Regions from separate parts of the Homo sapiens genome. Here region 1 is linked to region 2. The links are contacts of gene promoters, found by promoter capture Hi-C in blood cells and fetal thymus (Javierre and others, 2016). All regions are on one chromosome and are shown on one strand. The core of a region is centred on a gene start or on the middle of the fragment in contact, and the rest is flanking DNA. Distances in the headings are between cores, read along the strand shown.

Region 1 (4,905 bases), core at 529-3,028, 220 kb before region 2:
GCCAGGCTGCCTGGGCTCCAATGCCAGCTCTGCCACTTGCTAGCTGTGAGACTGTGGACAAACCACTCAGCCTCTGTGTGCCTCAGTTTTCCTATTTGTAAAATAGAGGCCATAGTGGTACCTATTTTGAAGACTAAGTAAAAGAATTCAAATAAAGAGACTTGGCACAGAGTAAGTGCTCAGTAAATGGTTACTGGTATTATCATTAGTATTTTTGCTATTATTGTTAACAGTGTTAACTGAGTTTCAGAGGCCAGCCTGTCTAAGCCCCAGGCCCAGCTCTGCTCAACCTTGTAGGCACAACCCCTTCTTAGGCACATCTCACCATGCCTCAGTTTCTTTCCCCAGACGGGTCTCTACTCCCACCTCGCTGACTTTCTGCTGTTCTAGGAATAGTCCCCACACAGTGCAGCCTCCAGGCCATGCCACATGTCCCCCGACCTCCCAGTTCCCCAATCTTCCGGTCTATAGAAATTCCTGGTGGTCATTTATCACATCTACAAAATTGCCCCAGCGGTGCCTAGAGAAGGCCTCTTTCCCACGCTAACTCCAGGCAGATTCTCCCCACCCCTGCCACCATCTGGGTGATGTGAGCACCCATCCAAGCTCCCATGGTTAAGCCCAGGCTCTCCAGGCCTTGGGGCAGGGGGTCCCCTTGCTAATGAGGGTCCCGAGGAATTATGGGAACCTTTAGCCCTTCTCTTGGGCAGCCCCAGGGAGTGGGGACACAGGCTCCTGCTGTGGCTGGGTCTGCATAGAGCCCCCCAGCCCAGGACCCAGCCTCTCAGACCCCACCAAGCCCAGGGCTTGCCCGAGGGAGGATGTGGCCACAGCGACACGGGAGGAGACTGGCAGTTCCAGGAAGCAGCCCCAAGCTTGTGGCCCTGAGCCCCACTGGGGTCCAGGCCCTGGGCAGGGACCACTTCCTGGAAATGTCTCACTGGGTGTGGGGGAGGGACTGAGGGAGATAGTGTGGAGCCAGGCAGGGCCCCTCTTCCCCCTTCCTCTCTCTCCCAGCAGAGCCCAGATGGGGCCCTGGGGCCAGCTCTTGGGAGCTTCCAGACTTAGCAGGAGGATGGAATGGGGTGGAGTCTGGGGGCTGTTGTTCAGGGCCAGGGACTCAGAGCAGGCACTTGGTGAACGGATGCCATGTAAATGTCAACAGGACCACAGATTAGGAGATTTCTGTGTGTGGTTTTGTTAGTGTTATTTCAGAAAAGGGTGTGTGCATGTGTGTGTATGGGGGGGCTATTGAAAATAGGGTTGCCAGATAAAATATCAGATGCCCAATTTGGGAGACGTACTAAAACATTATTCATTGTTTACCTGGATTCACATGTAGCAGGGTATCCTATTATTGATGTATTTTGATTTTGCTAAACCTGGAAGCTCTAATGAGAAGAGCATTGGCTCAGGAGTCCGGGGTGTGGACTCTTCACTCTCTAAATCCACCCAGGCTGTGCTGAGGGGGAAGCCCCTCTGCCCACTGGATGAGTCCCCCTCATTCACAGCCCACTCAGCTTGAGGTGTTCCTATTGCCAGCCAAAGCCACCACCAGAAATCCCAAGGGGTCTGCCTTGGGTGTCCCCACCCCTGCTGTCAGCCCTGGCGCAGACCTAGCCCCCATCCCCTGTAGAGGCGCCATGGACCTCCCTGCCTCCCCACTCCCAATTCCAAATTCACCCAGAAGCCAGAGGGTGTTTTCCATCCTGCAGCCTGCCCGTGTCCACCCCTGCGGAAGCCCTTCCACAGCACCCCCTCTTCATTGCCACACTCCCCAGTGGAACTTGAAAGGCCCACGGTCCGGCTTGTGTCCCCCTCTCCAGCCGTGTCTTACCACTCCTTCCCCCTCCTCCTCGGTGCTGCCACACTGAACAGCTTTCGGTTCCCTGAACAGGTTCTTTCTCATCTCTGGGCTGTTCTCTGTCTGGAAGGCTCTCCCTGTGTGTCTCATTTGTGGAGTGATGGCGACACATCCTTCAAATCTCAGCCTTGCACATCCTCATTCCCCTCAATGCAGACTTCAAATCTAGGGTGGGGCCTCCTTTCAGCCCCACCACTCCCGCCCTTCCCCCATGACAGACGTTATTTCTTTGTATTATGACTGTCCCCATCTGTCTCAGCTGCCAGACCGAGGGCATTTTGGAGACAGGTGCTGTGTCTCATTGGCTCATTCATTCACCCATCATGTAATTGTTAAACACTTGTTATATTCCAGGCACTGTACTAGTTGCTGAGGATATATAAATGAACAAGTCATCACATTCTTGTGGGGGAGGAATGTCTCACACTAAACAGTTTAACAAATAGACATAAGATATGACAGGTGGCGACAAGTGCTGAGAAGAAAAATTGAGGAGGGTGAGGGAGTAGAGTGGCCAAGAGCCTGGGTTTCAGCAGAGGGAGCTGGAGAATGAACCCAGGGGCGCTGGAGCTGGGGGCGTGGGAGAGTGTCAGAGAGCTGGCATGAACTGGCAGGTTGCCTGGAGGGGAGGGCTGGTTCCAAAGCCAGTCTTATAGCAATTTTTCCATTTCTTGATAGTGAACTTTGGAAGAGCTAGGGGTGGGGAAGATGGGAAGTTGAACCACCTCTGAGATAAAACTCTCTGAGGGGGCTGAGGTGGTCCTGGGTTGGGGTGCCCCCTGCTACTGGCAAGAGAGAAGCAAACTCAATATGGAGGTAAGCTTCCCTTGGTTAGGCCAGGAGGATGCCCAGAGTGAGACGAAGCAATGGGCTTCAATATAAAACTTACCCAAATCACAAAGTAAGCCACCGAGTGAGAGTCGGCAGAAAAGAAGGAAGCAACAGATTTTAGACCCCAGGGACGGAATACAGAATAGCCATATATGACACGTTTAAAGAAACACAAGATGCAATCGCAAAGATGAGCATATAAACGAATAGAAATGAAGAGAGACAGAGAGATTTGGGGGAAAACAAATGGAACTTCAAGAAATAAAAAGTATTATCTCAAGTTGGATGTGGTGGCTCATGCCTTTAATCCTAGTGACTCAAGAGGCTGAGGCGGGAGGATCACTTGAGGCCAGGAGTTTGAGACCACCCTGGGCAACATAGCAAGACCCCTGTCTCTATAAAAATCAAAAAAATTAGCCAGGCATGGTGGGGCACACCTGTAGTTCCAGCTACTTGGGAGGCTGAGGCGGGAGGATTGCTTGAGCCCAGGCGTTTGCGGCTGCAGTGAGCCGTAGTCACTCCACTGCACTCAAGCCTGAGTGGCAGAGCAAGACCTTGTCTCTACTAAAAAAAAAAACATAAAAAACTCTCAAAATCTAAAATTCAACAAACAAACAGTTGAATAGAGAATTAATTAGCCCAGCGTGGTGGCATGTGCCTGTAGTCCCAGCTACTCAGGAAGCTAAGGTGGGAGGATGGTTTGAGCCTGGGAGGCAGAGTTTGCAGTGAGCCGAGATTGCACCACTGCACCCCAGCCTGGGTGATAGGGCCAGGCCTTGTCTTAACAACAACAACAGAAAAAAAAAAAAAAGAGAGAGAGAGACAATTAATAAGCCTGGACTTATATACATAAAGCATGCAACAGAGATAAGAAGATGGATAACATGAAAAGAGATTAAGAGATATAGAGAATAAGAATGAGAAGATCTTATATATTGGAGTCCCAAAAGAAGAAAATAAAGGGAATGGGAAAGAGGTGGTATTTGAAGATGAAATGGCTGCAGGTTTTCCAGAAGCGATGGAAAAACACAGTCTCAGAACCAGGAAACACGAAATATCTCAAGCATAATACATAAATCCATGCTTATACACATTTTATTGAAACTACAGAATGTCAGAGGGAGAGAAACGATGAAAGCAGGCAAAGAGAAAGGACAGATTGCCTACCAACGACCACAGAACGTGAGCTGGCTCCTCAACCACCGTGACAGAAGCTAGGAGGCAGCAGTAATAGCTTTAAAGTGATGACAGCAAATAAATGTCCACTTAGAAGTGTGTCCAGCAGGGGCCAGGTGCTGTGGTTCACGCTTGTAATCCCAGCACTTTCGGAGGCCGAGGTGGGCAGATCACCTGAGGTCAAGAGTTTGAGACCAGCCTGGCCAACATGACGAAACCCCGTCTTTACTAAAAATACAAAATTAGCCAGGTGTGGTGGTGCACGCCTGTAATCCCAGCTACTTGGGAGGCTGAGGCAGGAGAATCGCTTGAACCTGGGAGGCAGAGGTTGCAGTGAGCCAAGATTGCGCCACTGCACTCCAGCCTGGGCGACAAGAGCAAAACTCCGTCTGAAAAAAAAAAAAAAAAAAAAAGAAGTGTCCAGCAAAACTGTTACTGGTGGAAGGTATCCGAGTTACCGTTGGTGAATCCGTCTGGATCTGCAGCAACCTCTTGCCTCCTCAGAAGAAAGAGTTTGACTGAGGGGTATAAGGCAGAAGGAGAGACTGAGGTAAGTTTCAGAGCAGGAGTCAAAGTTTATTGAAAAGCTTTAGGGCCGGGAGCAGTGGCTCACGCCTGTAATTCCAGCACTTTGGGAGGCCAAGGCGGGTGGATCACTTGAGGTCAGGAGTTTGAGACCCCCCTGGCCAAACATGGTGAAACCCCATCTCTACTAGTAAAAACACAAAAATTAGCTGGGCCTGGTGGTGGGCGCCTGTAATCCCAGCTACTCGGGAGGCTGAGGCAGGAGAATTGCTTGAACCCAGGAGGCAGAGGTTGCAGCGAGCAGAGATGGCGCCACTGCACTCCATCCAGCCTGGGCAACAGAGCGAGACTCTGTCTCAATAAACAAAACAAAACAAAGAGCTTTAGAACAGTAAGGAAAGGAAGGAGAAGAAAAGTACAATGTGGAAGAAGGCCAAGTGGTTGACCTGAGAAACCGAGTGCGCAGCTTGGCCTCTTGACTTGGGGTTTGATACCTTGGCATACTTCCA
Region 2 (4,794 bases), core at 2,124-4,623:
ATTGGTCAGGGATAGAAAGCTTCAGTCAGGGATAGGTCCCTCATGAACTGAACAAATGAACAGAGCTCAGGTATTCCCTGCAGAAGTCTTTATTGAGCACCTACTGTGTGCAAAGCAACCTTGAGGACATTTAAGGTGATCATGCTACAGTCCCAGACTCAGACAGTAATGTCATTTACAGAAGAAGCGAAGTCAGCTTGGAGAGGCAACATGGGGTTTTAAGATTGAGGTGGGGGTAACTGAAGGACTTCCTAGTGGAGCTTCCTGGGCTGTCGACTACTCTCCCCATCCGTCACTGCAGTGGCCACTTCCTGCCAGGAAGTGAAGATAGCTATTTGAAGGGTGTCCACCTCCCCTGACCCACTATGGGCCCACACACATTCATGTTTGCAGCCCCACTGCACCCAGTCTGCAGCTGCACCCACACTAAGAACTCTGGGATGGCTTGTGGGGTGAACGTTCTGAAATGAACACACACAAAAGCTTGAACTGAAGCCTGGAAGAGAGGTCAGGGCTGGACACAGACTCAGAGCTAAACAGGGCCACCAACGCCACAGGTGAGGAGGCAATCATCAAAGCTTGAGCAAGAGGAGACAGCCATGTGATAACAGGGCTCACTGCGGGGTGGAAAGCTGCAGAAGGAAGCTGAGAGAGGGACAGGAGCTCCAGGCAAGTATAGAGTTTTCAGAAGTGACTGAAGTGTAAGTGGGAAGGAGAGGTTGGTCAGTGCCCAGTGCATCATGCCAAAGAGACGTGGAGGACTGAAAGCCCAGACAGGCAGAAAGCCTGAGCCTGTGGAGGGAGAAGGGCAGATGGCAAACTTCGGAGGGCTCAAAGAGTGGGGCGGGAGCTGGGGGAGGAAGCAGCCACTTCCTTCTCCTTGGGGGTGTTTGGCTAGGATGGGAAGGAGAGGATGTGGTGTCTAGAATAGGGGGAGAGTTGAGCATATTGGGGAGACAGAGAGACAGGAGTGACTAAAGCATTGAGAGGCAAAAATAAATAAATAAATAAATAATAAAGTAAAGGGTCCAGGGGTTAGGGGCCTGAAGATCTGGTGTCTGATGTTTGCAGAGCCCAACCCTGGAAGAATGCCAGGCACCTGGCGAGGAAGCCATGGTCTCTTCCTTCCTTGACTTAGAACAACTAGGAGGCTCCTAGGTTCAGTCTTACTGGGAAGGGGATGGGAATGTGGGCCAAAGGACAGGGCAGAGGCTGATCTAAATACGTGGGCCAGCTCCACTGAGGAAACTGAGATGGACCAGTGTGGCGTGGAAGAAACCAAGGGGAGCAGCCAAATGTCCTCTTCTCCAGGCTGCCTGGCACAGAGCTGGGCACACAACCAACCCTGCAGACCAGCTGTCCAATGGGCAAGGGAAGGAGCAAGGCAGGTCCATCTGCAGTCTCGGCTGCTGGGAAGGTGAGACAGTGCAGGGCATTGGAGGCTGACTCCACAGTGGACAGAGAAGACTTTCAGGGAGATCAGCTCAGCTCAGTCTGAGGGGCAGGGACAGGAGGAGATAGCGTTTCTGCGGTTATCAGGAAGGGAAGTGGAGGAGGCAGCCAGGAAGATATCGGGAAGAAAGAGGAAGGGCGTGTGCTAGATCCCGAAGAGGAAAAAGCAGCTGAATTTAGCAGCCTCAGGGGTGTGAAGGTCAAAAGTATCAAGGAATCTTAAGCCCAGGGTTCTGGGCCAAGAAAGCAGGACTCTCTCTCATTTACATGGGCATCTGAGATGAAACCTGGTGTCCGGGGACTTCTACCAACCTAGGATTCGTGGGGGAGGGCAGTGGGACTGGTTCAGAACCTGGCTCCCCTGTTTACTAGATGTCTGACCTTGGGAGAATTACTTTGCCTCTCCGTACTTCATTATCTCCATCTATAAAATGGGGAGAACACCACCTTATAGGGTTGCTCTAAAGATTAGACAAGGCCAAGTGTTCAGAACAATACTGGCATATACAAAGAGCTCCAAAATTTTATTTTTCAGTTACTTTGCTCCAGTGGTGGGTGAATGCAGAGGGCCTGGCTGGGGAAGAGGGTCTCTGCCTCTCTGGGTTTAGACCAGGACAGCAGAGCTGCAATACTCCCCCTGCCCTAGATCAGGGACATTGCAAAGACTGGGGGGACAGGCTGGACAGCTGCTCAGAGACTGCAGCAAGCAGGGCTTGGTCGCCCTGGGAGAGCAGGCAGAAGGTCAAGGAAGTTGTACAGGGAATGCCACCTCCCTGCACACCATCATCTATCCTGGGCTTTCCAGGGCAACCTAGATTTCAAACCCTCTGCTCCCTGGTGCCCCTGTGAACAGCAGAACTCACCACCCTGTGCCCCTAAAGTCCACTCACTGCAAATGCAGGGCCCCATTCTGAGACTGCATTCCTAGCAAATGACTCTCCCTGGTCAAGGAGACGGCTACTCTAACAAGGGCATGGGGAATACACGTCTGGGAAAGAATGGGTGCTCACCCTGTTCAGGCAGAGGAAAAGCCGGGGAAGGTGAAAGACCAGGGGTGGCCACAACCCGCAATCTTGAGACAGTGTTGGGGTATGGAGGTGGGGGCTGGGTGGCAGTAAATGGTACTCCAGAATTTAATTAAACACAGCTTCCTCTTTAATATCTCCCAGGACCAGGCCCTTCACTGCACCAGCCAGAGTTCTGCTCTAACTAGCAATGCTGGGCTTAAAGGGGTGGTCCTGGGATCGCCCTCCCTGCTGAGACCCTCACAACTGCTGCGGCTGTCAATGGCCCGATTCCTCACTGCCCGGAGGGCACCGGCCAAGGCCCTTCTTCCTAACCTCTGGGCGGGCGCACCCCGCCCCAGGCCCTGCCAGGGAAAAAGCGAACTCCCCAAGGGACGTGGTGGGAGGGACCCAAAGGCAGCCTTCCAGGGAGCCCTGGGGGTGGGGAAGACGCCAGGAAGGGGAGAGGGCGGCGCCGATTGACAAGCCCATCCCGGGTAGGGTCTGCGCTCTTCTCGTTCAATAAAATCCAAACGGGGTCCCGAGGCTGCTCGGATCCCGTGGGACACGCCGCCCCTGTGCCCAGCTCCCAGCAAGGTCCTCGACTCGGGCTGAACGGCGCTGGAGGGGACCTCGCAGGGCTGGGTCTCCCGGGCCTTTCCCTCCCCGCGCCCATAGCGGGTCCGGGCAGAGGGGTCCCGAGGGCAGGGCCGGCCCGGACGCGGCGCCCCAAACGGCGGGCCGGGCAGAGCCCAGCGCCCCGCTCGCACCCAGCCCGCCCGGGCCCCCCACTCACCGGCCTGGCGGAGGCAGGATCCAGGCGTCGCCGCAGCGCCCGGGGCTCGGCCCGGCCCGGCCCGCCGGCAGGAGGCAGCTCCACGCCGCCGCCTCCTCCTCGGCCAGCCCGCTCGCGCCCCTCCCGCACACTTTCCACAGGAAATGATTAACTCGGGCCGCGGCGCGTTCCCATGGCAACCGGCTCCGACCCCGGCGGGGGGCGGCGGCGCGCGCCCGCACTCACGCGCACTGGCGCGCACGCGTCAGCCCGGGCGCGCCCCCGCAGGTCTCCCGCCGGCACTCCCACTCCCACTCCCACTCCTTCGCGGGGCCTCCCACTCGGTCTCTCCCGCCTCCCCGCGTCCCGCACTCGCACTGGCACACGTGCTCATGCGTTCCCTGAAGGCTCTCACAAAACAGGCCTGCACACGGGCTGGCACACACGAGGCAGCCCACACAGCCCCACACCTGGTGAGCCATGCGTACTTTTGCACAGCCTCAAACCCGAGTGCAAAACTTCCACGCGAGTACTCACACATACACTTCTCACGCGGGCTCTCATACCAGTACGTGTCTTCCCATCCCAACACACACACAAGCTCTTACTCACGAGACAATACATGTACATCCCTTACCGTGTCCTTGCACGCGCTGGCGCACATGCACTCACACTGTTTACAGCGCACACGCTCTCACTCGCTCCACCACCTACTCGCTGGCCAGGCCGCCTTCTAGCCACAGCACTTCCTACCTCTGCACCCCCAGCCCCACCCCAGCAAATGAATATCTTCCCAGCAAGGAAGCTGCCTGGAGTCCCTTAAGGTAAAACACACCAATGGTGCAGCAGTTCCCGGCCTTGCTGCAGAAGGCCCTGCTACTGGGGCACCTAGAGCCTCAGAAGAGGCCTGGGGGAGGCCAGGGGCCTGCCAGCCGGGAGAGACAGCTGACCTGGAGGAGCCACTCTGTTCTTTGTCTCCCAAACAGAGGCAGCATTTTATTCCAGAGCCAGCAGCAATATTCTCCCTCACTCTCCACACCCCCGGGTGCGGAAGAGGAGAAAGCAAGTCACTCTGAAGCCAGCCCATGCAGGCTGACGGTTCTGCAGATAATCCCAGGAGGGCGGGTACTCTGTCCCTTCCTGCTTGTCAGGGGATGGCCCAAGAAGATCAAGGAGAGGACTGGAGGGGGTCGGGCAACTCCAGGTGGGTTCTATCTCCTGCTGCCGCCCAGGCGCTGGGCTGCCAGTCAAGAATCTCGACCAGCGACGGAGCCAAGGGCCTGGGCCTCAGATTGTTCTGGACGCCAGAGCAGGACAGTCACAGTCCCCCAGCTGGAAGCAGCCTAGTGCATGCTTTATTTGACAACTGAGATTCCTCAGTGAAGGCCTGATAGAGGGTGAATGTAACGCTCCTGGAATCATTCCCTAGAGAGTTAGATTTCCAGCTGAACACCACACTGGAGAACCCTTCCAATGGGAGAGAAAGCCTTATTTGGGGAGTTATGATCTCTGAATTCCTCTGCCTGCCCTCCAAACAGCAGTGATCCAGGGGACCGCAAGGGT

The links. Contacts are between HindIII fragments. The CHiCAGO score rates a contact against its expected background, and 5 or more counts as called.
Region 1: a fragment that was not itself captured here is called in contact with the fragment with the promoter of KIFC3 in region 2 in 1 of 17 cell types (megakaryocytes); the score reaches 6.6 in megakaryocytes.

The regions. Positions count from the first base shown.
Region 1 is chr16:57,577,003-57,581,907 of GRCh38, forward strand. The region is part of intron 1 of LOC105371291 (a long non-coding RNA gene); the gene reads right to left. It overlaps ADGRG5 (adhesion G protein-coupled receptor G5), which reads left to right. Exons shown (of 12, transcript NM_001304376.3): 12 at 1-187. Among named protein-coding and RNA genes, the nearest start is that of ADGRG5, 37 kb to the left of the region's middle. The HindIII fragment of the contact is 1,810 bases long and covers 874-2,683 here.
Region 2 is chr16:57,799,118-57,803,911 of GRCh38, forward strand. It overlaps KIFC3 (kinesin family member C3), which reads right to left and starts at 3,374. Exons shown (of 20, transcript NM_001130100.2): 1 at 3,253-3,374. RefSeq lists enhancers at 2,317-2,993, 3,671-4,347. The HindIII fragment of the contact is 12,094 bases long and covers 577-4,794 here.